Regions from separate parts of the Homo sapiens genome. Here region 2 is linked to region 1. Evidence: promoter capture Hi-C in human tissues and cell types (Jung and others, 2019). All regions are on one chromosome and are shown on one strand. Each heading gives the region's core, a stretch centred on a gene start or on the middle of the fragment in contact. The rest is flanking DNA. Distances are from core to core; before and after follow the strand shown. Region 1 holds the start of OR9Q1 (olfactory receptor family 9 subfamily Q member 1). Region 2 overlaps OR4D10 (olfactory receptor family 4 subfamily D member 10).

What was found. The method cuts DNA at HindIII sites, captures the fragments that hold promoters and counts their contacts. A contact is called where the count stands out against the background at its distance.
Region 2: a fragment that was not itself captured here is called in contact with the fragment with the promoter of OR9Q1 in region 1 in 1 of the 25 tissues and cell types used here (stomach).

The regions. Positions count from the first base shown.
Region 1 is chr11:58,020,646-58,026,613 of GRCh38, reverse strand. OR9Q1 (olfactory receptor family 9 subfamily Q member 1) reads right to left here and starts at 2,733. Exons shown (of 3, transcript NM_001005212.4): 1 at 2,510-2,733. It overlaps LOC107984331 (a long non-coding RNA gene), which reads left to right and starts at 2,195. Exons shown (of 3, transcript XR_001748218.1): 1 at 2,195-2,527; 2 at 3,590-3,774. The HindIII fragment of the contact is 7,062 bases long and covers 1-5,968 here.
Region 2 is chr11:59,478,522-59,484,489 of GRCh38, reverse strand. It overlaps OR4D10 (olfactory receptor family 4 subfamily D member 10), which reads right to left. Exons shown (of 3, transcript NM_001004705.2): 3 at 5,129-5,968. Among named protein-coding and RNA genes, the nearest start is that of OR4D10, 8.2 kb to the right of the region's middle. The HindIII fragment of the contact is 4,232 bases long and covers 1,311-5,542 here.

The sequences.
Region 1 (5,968 bases), core at 1,484-3,983:
GCCTCCTAGGTTCAAGTGATTCTCCTCCCTCAGCCTCCCAAGTAGCTGGGATTTCAGGCACGCATCACCATATCCAGCTAATTTTTGTATTTTTAATAGAGACACGGTTTCACCATATTGGCCAGGCTGGTCTCGAACTCCTGACCTCAAATGATCCACTCACCTCGACCTCCCACAGTGCTGGGATTACAGGCATGAGCCACCATGCCCAGCCATGTTCCATATTTTTAACAAGCCTGCACATGTACCATTGAATATAAAAGTTGGGAAAAAATAAAAAGGTTGAGAGACAGAATTTCACAACTATCTAACTCCTGGAAATTTTTGAACCTATTAATTTGTTAACTCAGTGAAGTGGTTTACTCACAGTTCTATGCCTGCCAGTTCCTCATTCAAGCATTCATCAAGGAGACCCTGAGTTCTAGGCATGGTACCAGGCATCAGGCCTCTAACCCAAAATGAGTTGCAAGTCCTGCCTTTTAAGAACTGTGTCTTTTAGGAAAGATAGAGAAGTACTCAAGGGTTAGAACAGAGATGTGATGAGCTAATTGCAATGTGTCTGGTAGAACAAAGTAGGGGGCAGTGAAGTTGGCATACAAGGAAGACAGGACAGGTAAGATCAAGAAACAATTTCCCAATTAAATCACACTGAGGGTGGGGGACGGTGGAAAGAAGGCAATCCTTAACTGACAAAACCAAGTGCAGTAGAGGGAGGGGGAGGCACCCCAGCAAGCCAGGGGAGAGACAGGTGGAAGTAGGTAATATGCCCAGAGGAATTGTTAGAAGAGGTTGTGAGGTCCACGGAGAGAGTCAGGAGAGCACAGTGGTTAAGGCTACATTCAGGCATTAGACCACCTGATGCCTTCAAATCTCAGCTCCACCACCTTCTAACTGAAATCAAATGAAAGCAACCTAGATGGGAGGCAATGCCTAACCCAACGGAATGAATATCTGATGGAATCATTGAAGTCATCAGAGACAAGTCTAATGAGAAACTCTTTCTGAGCGAGAGTTCCAGAGCATCCAAATTCTACTCCTCTTCCCCCCTGCCCCAACACGTCTTCGGGTCATGTGTTGGTAGGAAGATGAGCTTCTCTCCAAAAAGGGAGAAAGGAGGCCGGGCGCAGTGGCTCACGCCTGCAATCCCAACACCTTGGGAGGCTGAGCGGGCGGATCACAAGGTCAAGAAATCAAGACCATCCTGGCCAACACGGTGAAACCCCGTCTCTACCAAAAATACAAAAAGTAGCTGGTCATGGTGGCGTGCGCCTGTAGGACACACCCTATAGTAGCACGGCGGGCACCCCAGCTACTCAGGAGGCTGAGGCAGGAGAATCTCTTGAACCCGGGAGGCGGAGGTTGCAGTGAGCTGAGATCGCGCCACTGCACTCCAGCCTGGCGACAGGGCAAGACTCCGTCTCAAAAAGAAAGGGTCATTTACGGAGCCCCTCCCATGGGCTAGATTCTGATGGGCTGATACCATCTGGCTTAATCCCCACAATATTGTACTATGATCCTATGAACTATTCTTGATATAGAGGTGTTATTTGTCTTGGTTTTCACGCAATTGAAATCACTGAAGGCTCAGAGAGACAGTAAGTAAACTTGGGCAAGATCAAAGAACTACATGGCACAGAGAAGAGCCAAACCCCAGAGCTTCTGACAAAAAAAGCCTCCACACCGTGCCATTTTCCTCTGCCATCTCATTTCACCCAATGACAACGTGCCTGCAACCCTGGCTCCCTGCCCTGACTCTGAGGTTAATTTCCCTGCAGCTCGGAGCCCCGCCAAGGCTGGAGGAATATCCCACAGGCTCCAGTGAGCTGCAAAGCACAGTCACACTCCCAGGGCTATTAACAGCATCCGCTTCCTCTCCAAGGTTCAGGGAACTTTATCCACCAAGTGCCATGCAGGAAAAAAGAGGTCAGCCAGAGAGGAGAGGGTCACACGGGGCAATCACTAAATAAGGAGAAAGGCCGCACAGGAACTTGGCCCAATTTGGTGTCCTCAAAAGACGGTGCTCCCTGGCCAAGATTTTCCCTAACAAATATGGAAAAACAGTTTGAGGCCCATGCACGAAAATTGAAACTTGGTTCCTGTAGCTATTTGCTTGTGTAGCTACGTGACAAGCCTGGTGAGAAACGCTGGATTTCTCCCTCTTTCAGTTCTCTCCACCTGGCATCTGGGGGCCTAGTCCCAAAAAGTGAAAGGAACTGGAAAATAAACTTACTAAGATCCAGGAAATGATTTCAAAAAAAAACAGCCAACAAACCGAGGTGAGCAGGCGCAGTGGGTGGGTGTTATGAGACAGACAGCGGGGCTAGGAGATGCCCAGGATGAAGCCCGGAGACCTGCTCTCTGATTCCTCTTGGGTCTAGCTCATCACAGCCTGCTTCCCCACTCCCACTGCAACGTGACAGCAACAGCACATCTCACTTTCCAACATGCAGACAGCCCCCTGTGTTAACAGCACCGTCTCTGAAATCAGTGGAGCTGCATTTGACCCTACCTCCGTCAGGCCGTAGCTGTGAGTTTGGGAAAGGCGTTTGATCTTTCTGAGCCTCAGTGTCTTCATCTTCAAACGGGAAGGATAACATGTACATTGCTGGGCTGGACTAAAGATGGAAGGAGACATCATTAAGGGAAAGTTAGGGCCTTTGCTCCTTTCGCTCCCTCTACCATCTCTGTGTGGCATCCTCCTGCACTTCTTCAATTCCCTGCACAAGGGCCACCTTAACAGAGAGGCCCTTTCTGACCACCTATCTGAAAACGCAGTTCCTTTCACTCTCTGACCCTCTTCTCAGTTTGATTTTTTGGGTCACAGCTTCATTGCCATCTGGTAGATATTTATTTGTTTGTCTATAACATCACGCACACACACACACACACACACACAAAAGGAAGCTCCTTGAAGATAGTGCCTTTGTTTGTTTGTTCATTACTGTGTTGCTAATGCCAAAGTCACTGACATGTAGTCTACATGCAATAAATATATACTGATGTAATAAAAGGGTGGCTGCATGCTCCTGATTGTACGTTGGCAGCGTACTTAGTTTCCTTTCCATTTCTAGCTACCTGTTTTTAAGGAAATTTAAGGAAAAGGAAGTTCAACAATACTTACAGAAAAGTCAATCAATTTGGGTGTTGTCCATGCAATTACTGTCAACGGACTACAAGACTGACAATGCCTGCAGGAATGATGTCTTGTATATCTGGAGCAGCCTGCTCTCATGGCCTTGGGTGGGAGGCAAATTGAATTGATTTCTACATATAATTTCTTTTTCTTAGCTACAGAATTTAATTCTAAATTTCCCGGAAAGCTGTACTCTATCAGCTGTTTTCAAACTCTGTTCCACCAAGCCCTAGGTTTGCTTAGTTGCCAGGTAGCTGGGAAGAGGAAAGGACCTAGTATGTGGGGCTCTCAAAATCCCTGCTTCAACCAGCTAGTAAGTGACAGAGTCCAGATGAGAATCCAGCCCAGTCTGACTCCAGAGCCCACCATCTTTCCATCATACCACCTCCCCAGGGAGGGTGATATTCCTAAAATAAAATCTGATCAATTAACTGGGCGCTTCTCTCATTATTCCAGGACTTCAATACTGAGCAGATACAATCTGTTCCTCAAAGCTACTGACATATAGTCTGCCTATGATGGGAACAAATGGGAAACTGAGGTATAAGAAAATAAGTGGGAGGCTTCTCCAGCCATATATGTGACAGAGACCCCAGACCCAAACCAAGCCAGAGAGTCCACTATAGCAGACAGGAACCAAGGTGAGAATCAAGCTTTCTGAGCTTCTAGCTCTTAATCTCTAGGCAGCAATAATATCTATTCTTGTTGTCTCTCAGAACATTCTGTGAATTGATGAGATAGTGGATGTGCGGGTTCTTTGAAACTTTAAAGGTACACTCTGGTAAAACCTGCTTACTCTTTTGCTTCTATTGCTTATGGACTATGCGATGACCACAGAATTTCAATAAAGGGACAGCATGGGAATGGCCATCTGGTGGGACTCTGGGAATGGTCATGAAGCTGCCCTGGAATAACAAAAGCAAATTGATTTTGTTTAGATTGTAGGTTTGAGGTGGCTTGAGGAGGCAGATGGAGATGAAGGAGAACTAAAACCCCACAAAGTCCCTCGGCACCCCTACTCTATAAGAGCTTAAGCAAATCAGTTGAATTCTGTGTGCCTCCATTTTCTCACTTGAAAACTGAATTGATATTTAAAACCACAATGACTCTGTAAAAGAGCTTTTGGGCCGGGTGTGGTGGCTCATACCTGTAACCCCAGCACTTTGGGAGGCCGAGGTGGGTGGATCACTTGAGGTCAGGAGTTCGAGACCAGCCTGGCCAACATGGTGAAACCCTGTCTCTACTAAAAATACCAAAACTAGCCAGGCATGATGGCATACACATGGTAATCCCAGCTACTCAGGAGGCTGAGGCAGAATTGCTTGAACCCAGGAGGTGGAGGTTGCAGTGAGCCGATATCACACCACTGCACTCCAGCCTGGGTGACAGAATGAGACTCTGACTCAAAAATAAATAAAATAAATAATTTTTTTTAAAAAAAAAAAAGAGGTTTTGAACAACAAAAAATGAGATTACAAACTGGGAAAACTCTGAAGAAAAGATTGGGCTATACCAAAGTCAGGAATCATACCTCTAGATTTGGTATCCATTTGATTGATAACATTCCTTCCATACACCACGCCTTGCATGCTCTTTGGATATAGGCCTCTAGAGGAGCCACGTACCTGCCTCCCACTGCTTCTCTAGTTTCCTAGTGTCTTCTCTGGGTGAAACACCAAGGCCAAGCATGCCCAGAACCTTGGAACTGGTGGCCAGGACAGGTTATTGAATCCCACTGAAGAACAGAGACCCCAAATTCAAGGAGCACAGTTTCTCTGAACCAAAGGTAGAGGGCACAGATCTGCCACTGGCTGAACTGGAAAGAGAAGTAACAAGAATTGTAGCTGGCTATAAGATGCCTCATACTCCACGTATGTGCCTGTAACTCTCCCAGGGGTGACCCATGGGACCATTTCTCCATGGAGGTTTAAAGCTCTCAGACAACAAAGAAAAGAAAATAATAAATTATGAAAAACTTTGTCCCAGAGGGTATGCAGAAGCTACGTGGGAGTTCCAAATCTGTAGATTAGGACGACGGATGCCTCAGAGTGGAGGATGAGGGGCCAACCAGGGAAGATTCCGTGACAGCTAGACTCTTTGCCAAGGTCTCTGACTCCAAACTACTCTAGAATATGGTGACACGAAATCTATAGAGTTCAGATTTATCACAGATGCAGTGAGGCCTTCCTCAATAGAGTGGGTCAGATATCACCATCCACCTACCTGCCCCCTATCCCCCACTTCTGGAAAATAATCTGCAATGATAACACCAGACATTACTGAGTAGCCACTCTGGGCCAGGCTCTGTGCAATATAGATGTGAAGTACCAGCTTCAACCCTTAAGGAGCTCACAATTCCATAGAGGCTGTGACTTAGGGTCACTTTTAACCTGAATGTTGCTGTGCCAAATTGCCTTCCTTTCAAAGAGTTAATCTGGGGCATTTGATGATTGTTTACAGGCTGGGCAATTGTTTTCTCCAAAAGGGAAATACAGTGTTATTTCAATATAAAGCAAAAAGAACATCAAGGATGGTGAGTATCCACTGTGTTTGATCACAGAAGGCAGCTGGACCAAAGCTGGCAAAGCCCAAAGGCAATATAGATGACTTGTTCTTTAACACATCTTCAACGCATAGGATCATTTTCTTTGATTTTGTATGACTTGGGTCCAGCCTTAATGTATCAGGTGCAAATATCTTGTCTTCCCAACTAAACAATAAAGATCTTTTACCACAGGGCCATGTCTTATATTTTCTGCATTCCCAAAAAGCCTAGTGCAGTACTGCTCAGTGTAAAACATCACAGACTTGTGATAAAAGAAAAACTTTAGCTGA
Region 2 (5,968 bases), core at 2,177-4,676, 1.5 Mb before region 1:
ATGTATTGCAAAGAGTTTAACCTAGTCTACAGCTTGTTCTTAATTTTCTTAATAATGCTTTGGAAGAATAGAAATTTAAAAATTTGAAGTTCTATTATGTTTTTCTATTTTTTTAATCATGTCTAAGAAATATTTACTTACCTCAACATTGCAAACATCTTGTCCAATTTTCTTCAGAGGTTTTGTAGTTTGAACATTTATGTTTATATCTTTGATGTATTCCAAGTTAATTTTTTGCATAATGTGACTTTCAGGTGAAGGTTTTTTGTTTTCCACATGGATAGCCAGTTGTTTTCGCTCAATATATTAAAAAGATGAGTATTCTCTGCTCCTCTCTTGATTTACTCTGGCAGATTTATTTAAATTTAATTGATCATATACGTATGCCTGTATTTACAGACTTCTTTTCAAATGATCCATGTCTAGCTTCATGCCCATTTTATGTGGTATTGATGGTTGTAGCTGTCTAATAAATCTTGAATTCAGATAGTATAAGTTCTCTAACTTTGTTTTCTTTTACAAAGTTGTTTTATGTATTCTAGGTTCTTTGCATTTCCATAGAAAATTTACAATCAGGCATGGAGTCCTGGTTCATGCCTGCAATCCCAGCACTTTGGGAGGCTAAGGCAGGTGGATCACTTGAGCCCAGGAGTTTGAGACCAGCTTGGCAAATATGGTGAAACCCTGTCTCTACAATATTTATATATATATATATATAAAAGCTGGGCATGATGTCATGCGCCTGTATATAGTCCCAGCTAATTGGGAGGCCTAAGCTGGAGGACCACTTGAGCCTGGGAGGTTGAGGCTTCAGTGAGCTGAGATTGCACCACAGCACTCCAGCCTGGGTGACAGAGAGAGACCCTGTGAAAAAAAAAATTACAATCAGTTTAACAACCAAGAAGTCCTGCTAAAATTTGGATTTGGGTTACATTGATTGTATAGATTAATTTGGGCAGAATTGAAATCTTAACAATACTGAGGCTTTCAATTCGTGAATATAATCTACGTATGTCTTAATTTATGACATTTATTTTCTGTATTTCTGACTTTATTTTCTGTTAATTTTTTGTTCTTGTTTTTATTTTTTGGCATTTGTCTCTGTTCATGAGGTATTTTGGTCTATAGGTACTTTCATTTTTCTTTTTTTTTTTGTGACAGAGTCTCTCTGTTGCCCAGGCTGGCATGGTCTCAGCTCACTGCAACCTCTGCCTCCTGGGTTCAAGAGATTCTCATGCCTCAGCCTCCCAAGTAGTTGAGATTACAGGTATCCACCATGATGCCCGGCTAATTTTTGTATTTTTAGTAGAGATGGGGTTTCACCATGTCCAGGCTTCACCAGCCTGGACAAGGCTGGTCTCAAACTCCTGACCTCAGAAGATCCGCCCACCTCGGCCTCCCAAACTGCTGGGATTATAGGCATGAGCCACCGTGCCCAGCCAAGAAACCAGTTTTTAATATCAAGAAAAACAACTAAGAATTGGTTTTTTTAAAAAGATAAAATTGACAAAACTTTAGATTAAGAAAAAAAGATAGAATACTTTATTAAATAAAATTAGAAACCAAAGAGGAGACATTATAACTGATGCCACAAAAATACAAAGGACTATAAGAGAATACCATAAACTTTTTATATGCTAAAAATTTGGATAACCTAGAAGAAATGGACAAATTCCTAGAAACACACAAACTGTCAAGACTGAATCATGAATAAATAGAAAATATGAAATGGCTAATAACAGATTAAATCAGTAATCAAAAACCTTCCAGCAAGGAAGAGTCCAGGACCTGATGACTTCCCCAGTAAATTTTACCCAACATTTTCTATTTTACTAATTTTTAAAAATTAAGAAAATCTTATTGCTATATAATTGTTATACATATTTTGGGGGTACATGAGATATTTTGATACCTGCATACAATGTGTAATAATCAAAATTAGGGTAGTTGGGATATCCCTCTCTTCAAACATTTGTCTTTTCTTTGTGCTGGGAATATTACACATCTTCTCTTCTAGCTATTGTGAAATATAAAATAAATTATTTGTAACTATAATATTTATATTATAAATATACTTTCCTATTGAATACTGGAACTCATTTCCTCTACAGAACGGTGTTTTTGCACCGCTTCACCAAGTTAGTTCTCTCACCCGCATTCCCCTTCCAGACTCTGGTAACCACCGTTCTACTCTCTACCTCCATAAAATGCACTTTGTAAAACAAGTTTTTCTTATTTATTTATTTTATTTCAATAGGATTTGAGGGGAACAGGTGGCGTTTGGTTACATGGATACATTTTTTTTTTTTTAATTTTTTTGAGACAGGGTCTTCCTCTGTCGCACAGGCTGTAGTACAGTGGCACGATCTTGGCTCACTGCAAACTCCTCCTCCTGGATTCAAGTGATTCTCGTGCTTCAGCCTCCCAGTAGCTGGAATTACAGGCGGGTGCCACCACACCCGGCTCATTTCTGTATGTTTGGTAGAGATGGGGTTTCACAAGGTTGGCCAGGGTAGTCTGGAACTCCTGACCTCAGGTGATCCACCTGCCTCGGCCTCCCAAAGTGCTGGGATTACAAGTGTGAACAACAGTGCCTGGGCCACATGAGACTTTGGTGCAGTCATCACTTGAGCAGTGTACACTGTACCCAATGTGTAGCCTTTTACTCCTCACTCCCCTTCCACCCTCCCCAGTAACATGTTGTCCAGGCTGGTCTTGAACTCCTGGGCCCAAGCAGTCTTTCTATCTTGGCCTCCCAAAGTGCTGGGATTACAGGTGTGAGCCACCACACTTGGCCACTAAACATGCTTTCATACTGATGTCTCCAACACTAATCCATTATCACGTGCTTCATATTTACCTTCCCACCTTGGTTGCTTGTAAGCTCCTATTCCGACATTGAGAAATCTTTAATGTAGTTTTGAATACAGTTGTGCTTACAGCTACCATTTTGATTTTTTTTCTTTTTTCTTTTTTTTTTTTGAGATGGAGTCTCACTTTTTCACTCAGGCTGGAGTGCAGTGGTACAATCTCAGCTCACTGCTACCTCTGCCTCCCAGGTTCAAGCGATTCTCCTGCCTCAGCCTCCAAAGTAGCTGGGATTACAGGTACACGCCACCATGCCCAGCTACATTTTGTATTTTCGGTAGAGACTGGGTTTTATTATGTTGGCCAGGGGTGGTCTCAAACTCCGGAGCTTCAGTGATCCACTCGCCTCAGCCTCTCAAAGTGTTGGGATTACAGGAGTGAGCCACTGTGCGTGGCTCATTTTGCTTTTATTTAAAATTTTTTTCCCATTTATTTTTTGCTTCCTTTTATTATTTTTCTGCCTTCTTTGGGATAATTCAGTGTTTTTAGTTTTTTATTTTATTTCATTTATTGTCTTATTATCTGTATCTTGCAGTTTTATTCTATAGTGATTACTCTAGGGCCTACAATATGCATCTTTAACTCACATCAGATGGCCTTCATATGATATCACTTCATGATGAATATAAACCTTACAACAGTATATTTATTTTCCCACTCTTTTTTTGCCATACATTTTACTTTTATATTTAAATTTTTTTTTGTGATAAAAAATCTTTGGATAAATAACTGATGTGGCTTCTGTTGTCTTGACTTGACCCTGATTGGTAAAGTATTTGGTAACAGAAGTGATAGCAAAAAGCAGACTCTCAAAGGTGAGATTCTGAGATTACTTGAAACGTCCTTGGTCATGAACATCATGCTGAATTCCTTATCCACGGTAAATCAGATTCTGGCAATCCATGGCATACAAAGGCATTATAACTAACCAAATTGTCACATGTTATTGACCGTGACAATTTTCTTAGTGAAGCAAGTGCTTGAATCATGAGGTGACTCCTGTAATTGACTTTGTCAGTACTACAGGGACTGTGGAGGAGGGGTGGCTACTCCTAACTACATTGAATAAATTACACTAAAGAAATGACAAGCAGTTTATATGCTCAGCTCAAGGTGAAGTCTGGGAACCAGAGAGCTTTTTCTTTTTTTCTTTTTAAGAGTCTCACTTTGTCACCCAGGCTGGAGTCTAGTGGCACGATCTCAGCTCACTGCAGCTTCTGCTTCCCAGGCTGAAGTGATTCTTGTGCCTCAGCCTCCTGAGTAGCTGGGATTACAGGCATGTGCCACCACGTCCTGGCAAATTTTTGTATTTTTAGTAGAGACAAGGTTTCCCCATGTTGTCAAGGCTGGTCTCAAACTCTTGACCTCAAATGATCCACCTGCCTTGGCCTCCCAAAATGCTGTGATTATAGGTGTGAGCCACCATGCCTGGCCCCAGAGAGCTTTTATGCAAGTCTTCAGCTACTTATGTATTTCTTATTGCCATAGGGCTGACCTCATAGAAGTCAGATACATAATTTAATTGTGCAATGTCCTGAATTACATCAGGAATTGAGTTCAAAGGTTTTCTGTGTCTCTGTTGTGAAAAGTAGAGTGTTGATTGGAGTGGGAATATAAGGTAGCACTTAAATGGATTGCTTCCATTTTACCATAACATATAATTTGTGTTATAATATTTATATTGACTTTTTATTAGGTTAAGAAAGAATGCTTCTTTTCTTTATTTATTTATGAGTTTTGGCCATAAATTGGTGTTGAATATTATCAAGTGCTTTTCTATATTTACTGAGGTAATCACATTTTTCTTTAATCTGTAAGAAATATGTTAGCAGATTCTTTTTGCTTGTGAACATGAAAGGCAGAGACAATTGTACTTAGTTCATGAACACTGCCACTATTGGTTCAGGAAAGAATTTACCTTTATATAATGATGTATCACCTTTTATCCCTAGTTCCCACTCTCTTTCCCTGGAACTCAGAAACCATTAAGGGAACTTCGTAATGAAAGATTAAATTTCCAGCCACCACAACTGAATGGAAGCTTGAAATAGAAATCAAGTTATATAAAATTTTAAAACGTTACATTTCTTGCATGTCTAGGTTGTGGGACAATATTAGTATCAGATACAGAAAGAATTCCAGTTTCAATAAGAACTCCAGATCCCTATAAAAAATATTAAGTGAACAGCTAAAAACATAATTGCAGCAATGTGTAAAATAATCATTTTTCACTTTTTTCCAAGCTTTATATATGTATATGCATAGCTTAAAGTAGCTTAATGTGTTTTTGTCATTTGTAGAAACTCACAGGCCACAGAGTATATCAAGTAAGTGAAAACATTCAATCATTGAGCTATTTATTCAGCAACATATTGTTGAAGTCTTAGTATGTTTTAGCTGCTGTGACAGTAAATAAAACATAATCCCTGCTCCTGGGGAAGTCACTGCCCAGTAAGAGAAAGAGACAAGAAAATAGGAAATTTCAAAATAGAGTCCTGAGTGCAATGCTAACCCTAAGCACAGAGTGCCAAGGAAATGCGGTAGGGTGGCCAGTGAGCTTGGGGTTCAAGAAAGGGCAAGGTAATGACCTTGCCCATCATAAGGATCATGTAGGATACGTTTACCTTATGAAAATTATACAGAAAGTCAATCCCCAAACTCCATTGTGTTTCAGATACACCCCACACCTTCATTTACTGTAATAGGAGCAGAAAGGTAATGATAATGTCTGCGTGCATTTGGCTTAATTTTTCTTTAAAATTGGACTGCAAAATCATATACACATTTGCTAACAATTTTCCCTCTCTTTTCTGAATCACAAAGGCTCTGTTTAAATTATTAATATTTATGTCAACTAAATGCAGATAAGAAGATTTACTATATATAATATGCATTTGCTAGGTATATATATAATTTTATGTATTACTTATGAAAATAAAACAAATACTTAGCAATCACTAAATAAATATATTCAATTCAGCAGGCAACACTTTCAGAACTTGGAGTCCATGGAAGAAAAATCATGAAACAAAATCTTGGTGGTAAAGAGGAGGGAGCTCTGGTTTATTTTCAATTAGAAGGTGTGAATCTCTCCCTGACC